Linked DNA regions of Homo sapiens: region 2 is linked to region 1. The links are contacts of gene promoters, found by promoter capture Hi-C in human tissues and cell types (Jung and others, 2019). All regions are on one chromosome and are shown on one strand. Each heading gives the region's core, a stretch centred on a gene start or on the middle of the fragment in contact. The rest is flanking DNA. Distances are from core to core; before and after follow the strand shown.

Region 1 (2,700 bases), core at 39-2,538:
CGAAGCCCTTGCCGCACTCCTCGCAGCCGAAGGGCTTGACGGCCGCGTGGTAGCGCTGGTGCTTGGCCAGCCGCGAGCGGTGCGGGAAGACCTTGCCGCACACGTCGCACGTGGTCTCCGGCCTCCCGGCCGGCGGGGCCACTGCGGCGGGGAACGCCCAGGGCGACAGCAGGTTCGCACCCGGCTCCCGGCCGGGCAGGAAAGGCTTCGCTTCAGAGCCGTCGGCCAGGACCCCCAGGCCGCCTGGGTCGGGTCCCCACCCCTCTGGAGTCTGCGCCGAATCCGAGTCGTCGGGCCCCCACGTCCCAGGCACGTCCCCCACGCCGTAGGCCGCCGACCAGAGCCCTGGGGGCTCGTTCTCCTCCTCGGCCACCTCCGCCAGGAAGTCCTCGTCGTCTTCCTCCTCGTGGTCCTCTATGTCGTCCGTCCAGAACCAGGCTCCTGAAGGTGACAAAGGCAGGCCAGAAGAGAGAGGTAAGTGAACTTGACAGGAGCCTCTGGCAGGTTCCTGTCCCGAGAAATCAGGGCTTCCGAGACGCCACCAGCAGGACCTTCCTTCAGTCGGACGGGGCACCTCCTTTCACCAAGTGAGCGGTTGCCCATGTCCCACTGCCAGTCCTGAACAGCCGCAAGGCAGGAAAGCCGCCGCCCCCAGCTAGGAACCTGGGGACACGCAGCACCTGAAACTGTCCCTCCCAGGAAAGCCAGGGCTCCCGTCCAACATCTCTTCCAGACCGCCGGCTCCCTCCAGGGCTTGCCACCTGCTGAGGAACGGGGCAAACTCTAGGAAGGGGTGCGACCGAAGGTTAAACCCAAGCAGGGATCCTGTGCTGAGAAAACCAGGTGGAGACGCTGGGGCAGTTTTCCCCAAAGCTCCTGGAGAACTCCGCCTCCCTGGCCTTCCTGGAAGACAGCGCAGCCGGCGGCCCTGTCCACAGAAGACCTGCCTTTGTCAGCTCTAAGCTTTTTGTTTTTGTTTTGAGACAAGAGTCTCACTCTGTCACCCAGGCTGGAGTGCAGTGGCTCGATCTTGGCTCACTGCAACCTCCACCTCGTGGGTTCAAGCAATTCTCCCACCTCAGCCTCCCAAGTAGCTGCGATTATGGGCTCAGGCCACCACGCCCGGCTTTTTTTTTTAAAAGCTCACTGCAACCTCCACCTCCCAGGTTCAAGCAATTCTTCTGCCTCAGACTCCCTAGTAGCTGGGATTACAGGCGCACAGCACCGCAGCTGGCTAATTTTTGTATTTTTAGTAGAGATGGAGTTTCGCCATGTTGGCCAGGCTGGTCTCGAACTCCTGACCTCAGGTGATCTGCCCACCTCGGCCTCCCAAAGTGCTGGGATTACAGGCGTGACCCACCGCGCCCAGCCTTTTTTTATTTTGTTTTGTTTTTTGAGACGGAATTGAGCTCGTTGCCCAGGCTGGAGTGCAATGGCCGAATCTCGGCCCACCGCAACCTCCACCTCCCGGGTTGAGCAATTCTCCTGCCTCAGTCTCCCGAGTAACTGGAGTTACAGGCGTGCGCCCAGATGATGATGATGATGATGATGATTTTAGTAGAGATGGGGTTTCTCAGTGTTGGTCAGGCTAGTCTCAAACTCCTGACCTCAGGTGGTCTACCCACCTTGGCCTCCCAAAGTGCTGGGATTACAGGGGTGAGCCACCGTGCCCGGCCTGTCAGCTCTAAGCTTTGCTCAGCTTCCCCCATTCTGCCCCTCTCACACCAAGCTGCACCCCTGCCCTCTCCCTTCAGCCTTGCGAGGCACCTGTGCAGGCAATGAACAACATGTAGATGGAGCTGGCTCGGTGGGGCTCCTGTTGATGGCTCAAACACCTAAGACATCGTGACGCACCCAGGAGGGAACTGGTGTCTATGGAGCAGGCACTAAGTCACGGGACACAGGGATGACACCTGGCCTGCAGCCCCAGATGCTCTAAGGCACCTTCATGGACCCTCCTGGTGTCTGCCCGACAGTCTCAGCATCTGGAAGGTTCCAGCTCCCACAGCTGGTGTGGAAATCTCCTCCTCACCCCACCTGGGTCCCCTGCCCATTTCAGCCGTCACCTAGCTGGATAAGCCTGGACCACTGAGTGCTGCCCTAGAGGGAAAGTCGGAGCCCAGGAGGTCCCAGTAGGCCTCGGGTAGCCCCTCATGTCGCACGCTGGCCCCTGCCAGGCTGCATGCCCTTGGCACTGCCTCGTCCCACATACATTCCATATGGGGACCTAGAGCCGCAGGAAAACACAGACCCACACAGGCCCGGCTTCACTGTGAAAAAACAGGCATCATAGAAAAGGGTCAGAAAACGGGTTACTGCATCTTTCACATTTCATGATACTTTATCGGTTTACTATCATAGTAAACGTAAGCTTGAAATAAAAAGGTTTCTTGTCACTAAGTTGAGTCTACCTCGAACTGCCACCCACAGCCACTCCGTGCACAGAGCAGCAAAGAAAAGCCCCGTCCCCATCAGTGGCCACCCTTCCCCGACTGGCAGCCACACTCCCCAGGTCTGGGAAGGCTGCTGCACCCCAGCCCTATACCCCAACCCTACAGGATAGGGAGGCTGGCAGAGAGCTCGAAAGGATCTCACCCTGAGGCTCTGATGCAGGTCTTGGGTTTAGAGACCCCTCCAAACGGGGAAGGTTCAAGCCTAGGAACAACTATGATTTTGTAGCGGGGTGCATCGGTACCTCAG
Region 2 (2,700 bases), core at 17-2,516, 36 kb after region 1:
CCCTTCACAAGGGAGGAAAGCTAGAGTCACCAAAGGGACATTCAGGGCGGGGAGCTCTGGGGCCAAAGAGAGACTGTCCATCAACATCCTCCCTGCCTCCTTCAATTCTTTTTTTATTAAATACTTTTTTTTTTTTTTCTTGATACGGATTCTCACTCTGTCACCCAGGCTGGAGTGCAGTGGTGCGATCTGGACTCACTGCAACCTCCGTCTCCCCAGTTCAAGCGATTCTCCTGCCTCCGCCTCCTGAGTAGCTGGGGCTACAGGTGCGTGCCATCACCCCCAGCTAATTTTTATGTTTTTTTATATTGTAGATGATGTTGCCCAAGGCTGGTCTCGAACTCCTGGCCTCAGGCGATCCTCCTGCCTCGGCCTCCTAAAGTGTTGGGATTATAGGAGTGAGCCACTGCGCCTGGCGCCCTTCCATTCTATTGCCTTCCTGGCCTGCTCTGAGAAGGCCGCCAGCAGGCCACGTGTGTCAGCTGCCACCCCAGCTCCCGGGCAAGGCAGGTGTCCAGAGCACTGTCACCCACGGCCTGGCCCTGTGCCCAGGCGCTCCTGAGAGTCCACCCTGGCCCGTGCAGAGCTGGCCCCTCTCCCCTAAACAGGCCGACTCGTGCCATCCAGTCCAAACTCTCTCAAGGGACGCGTCCCCGGTTGCCCAGCGCCAACGACCCCCTGGGCCTCACCTGGTGGAGCATTTCCTGCTCCCGGGCAGCCTCTGCGCTAGGGAGGTGTGGTCAGCAGAGGCTGCGAGGTGAAGGCCACGGCGTGCAGCCGGCTCCTTCCGGAGGCGCCTCCATCCAGAAAGAGCCAGGAGGCGCAGGGCCACCCCGGGGGCTTTCTGGGCACTCCGGAGGGTCCACGCCCTCTGGGCTGCCGAGGTCGCCCTGGGCCAAGGGAAGGGGCTGAGAGGAGCGGCCGAGCAGAAGTTGGTGGAGACTCTCCGGCGGGGGCTGGGGCGGGAGGCAGGGCCCCGAATCCCGCGCGGGGCTCAGGGCCGGCCCCCCGGGACCATCGCGGGCAGCGGGATCCAGGCCGGCGCCCGGGGTCGGCACCACGGGGTGGCCCCGCCTGGGGTCGGCGGCGGCCAGGCGACGCGGGTCCTCGGGGGCTACAGGTGCCCGGAGCCTGCGGGCGGCCTGGGCCGGGCCGCGCGGGGGCCGGGGCGGGGGCGGGGCGGGCGCCGCGGCAAGGCCGGGTCCCCCTGGGCTCGCCCGCCCGCCCGGGAGTGCGTCCGTGCGGGCCGCTGGCCGGGCCGGGGGCGGGGGCGCGGGGGCCGGCACAGGAAGTCCCCCCGGCATCCGCATCCTGTCCCCCGCCCCTGCCCGCCCGCCGCGCCCCCGCGCCCCGGCCCCCGCCGCCGCCGCCGCCGTCGCCGCCGCCGCTCTAGGCAGCCGCAGCTCGGTGGGCTTAACCATTCCCGGCCCGGCCACTCACCCGGCCCGGGGGACACGATGCGGCGGCCCCTGGGGCGTCCCGGGCTGGCCGGTGCCGAGCGCAGCGCGCGCTGTGCCGCATCCCTGCTGCGCGTGTCCTCGCGCCACGGGGTTGGCGACTGTCACTGCCTGGGTGTCTGGGTGGGGGGTACCCAACCCGATCCCTGCCACCCCCTAGAGGGCAGGCGTGGCCTCGGGGCGCCCCTGCCGCGGTGCAAATTGTGGCTAATTAGCACACAATTCGATGGCACTCGGAGAGGGAGTAGGCGCCATCCGGGCCCGGCCCGAGCGGGCCCTGGAGAGGCCACCCCGGTCCGCACCGTGGAGCCCTCCTCCTAGACCCCGGGGCTGGGGAGGGCAGGCCAGTAGGGAGTGTGTGCCTCCCTCCCCCGATCAGGGACTGTGACCTGCATAGATCAAATGAGGCCACCGTGGAGAACTGGCAGAGCTGGAATCCTCCCGCCCAGCGCCCCTGCGGCCTTTCGCTGACCACAAGGCTGGTGGTCAGGCCTCCCACCTCCCTCACCCTCTCCTCTCCTCTTTCCCTACTTGGCAAGTGGATTCCTGCCTGGGTCAGGGGTCTTCTCCAAGGGAGGCCTTCCCTAACCCCGTCTTAATGTTGCACCACCTAACTTTCCTGTTCTCGGTGCACAAACCTCTCTAACCTGGAGAATTCAAATTCAAATTGGGATGCTCAAATTCTTTAGAAAAAACCAAAGATCTGGGGGCAGGGCATGGTACTTCACGCCTGTAAACCCAGCATTTCGGGAGGATCACTTGAGGCTGGTAGTTTGAGACCAGCCTAGCCAACATAGCAAGACCCCATCTCTACAAAAGAGGTTTTTAAAAAATTAGCTGGGCTACTGAAAAGTAGCCTGTAATCCCAACTACTTTGGAGGCCAAGGTGGGTGGACCACTTGAGCCCGGGAGGAGGTCGAGGCTGCAGTGAACTATGATCGCGCCACTGCACCCCAGCCTGGGTGATAGAGTGAGACCCTGTCTCCATCTAAAAACAAGCAAACATGCTGGGCGCGGTGGCTCACGCCTATAATCCCAGCACTTTGGGAGGCCGAGGCGGGCAGATCACCTGAGGTCTGGAGTTGGAGACCAGCCTGGCCAACATGGAGAAACTCCATCTCTACTAAAGATACAAAATTGGCCGGGCATGGTGGCACATGCCTGTAACGCCAGCTACTCTGGAGGCTGAGGCAGGAGAATCGCTTGAATCTGGGAGGTGCTCCTGGGGTGCAGCAGGAATGCC

The links. The method cuts DNA at HindIII sites, captures the fragments that hold promoters and counts their contacts. A contact is called where the count stands out against the background at its distance.
Region 2: the fragment with the promoter of ZNF853 here is called in contact with a fragment that was not itself captured in region 1 in 2 of the 25 tissues and cell types used here (adrenal gland and spleen).

The regions. Positions count from the first base shown.
Region 1 is chr7:6,650,044-6,652,743 of GRCh38, reverse strand. ZNF316 (zinc finger protein 316) reads right to left here. Exons shown (of 9, transcript NM_001278559.2): 9 at 1-441. Among named protein-coding and RNA genes, the nearest start is that of ZNF316, 14 kb to the right of the region's middle. The HindIII fragment of the contact is 3,413 bases long and covers 1-2,700 here.
Region 2 is chr7:6,614,176-6,616,875 of GRCh38, reverse strand. ZNF853 (zinc finger protein 853) reads right to left here and starts at 1,266. Exons shown (of 3, transcript NM_017560.3): 1 at 690-1,266. The coding sequence starts at 701. RefSeq lists enhancers at 1,629-2,382, 2,383-2,700. The HindIII fragment of the contact is 23,550 bases long and covers 1-2,700 here.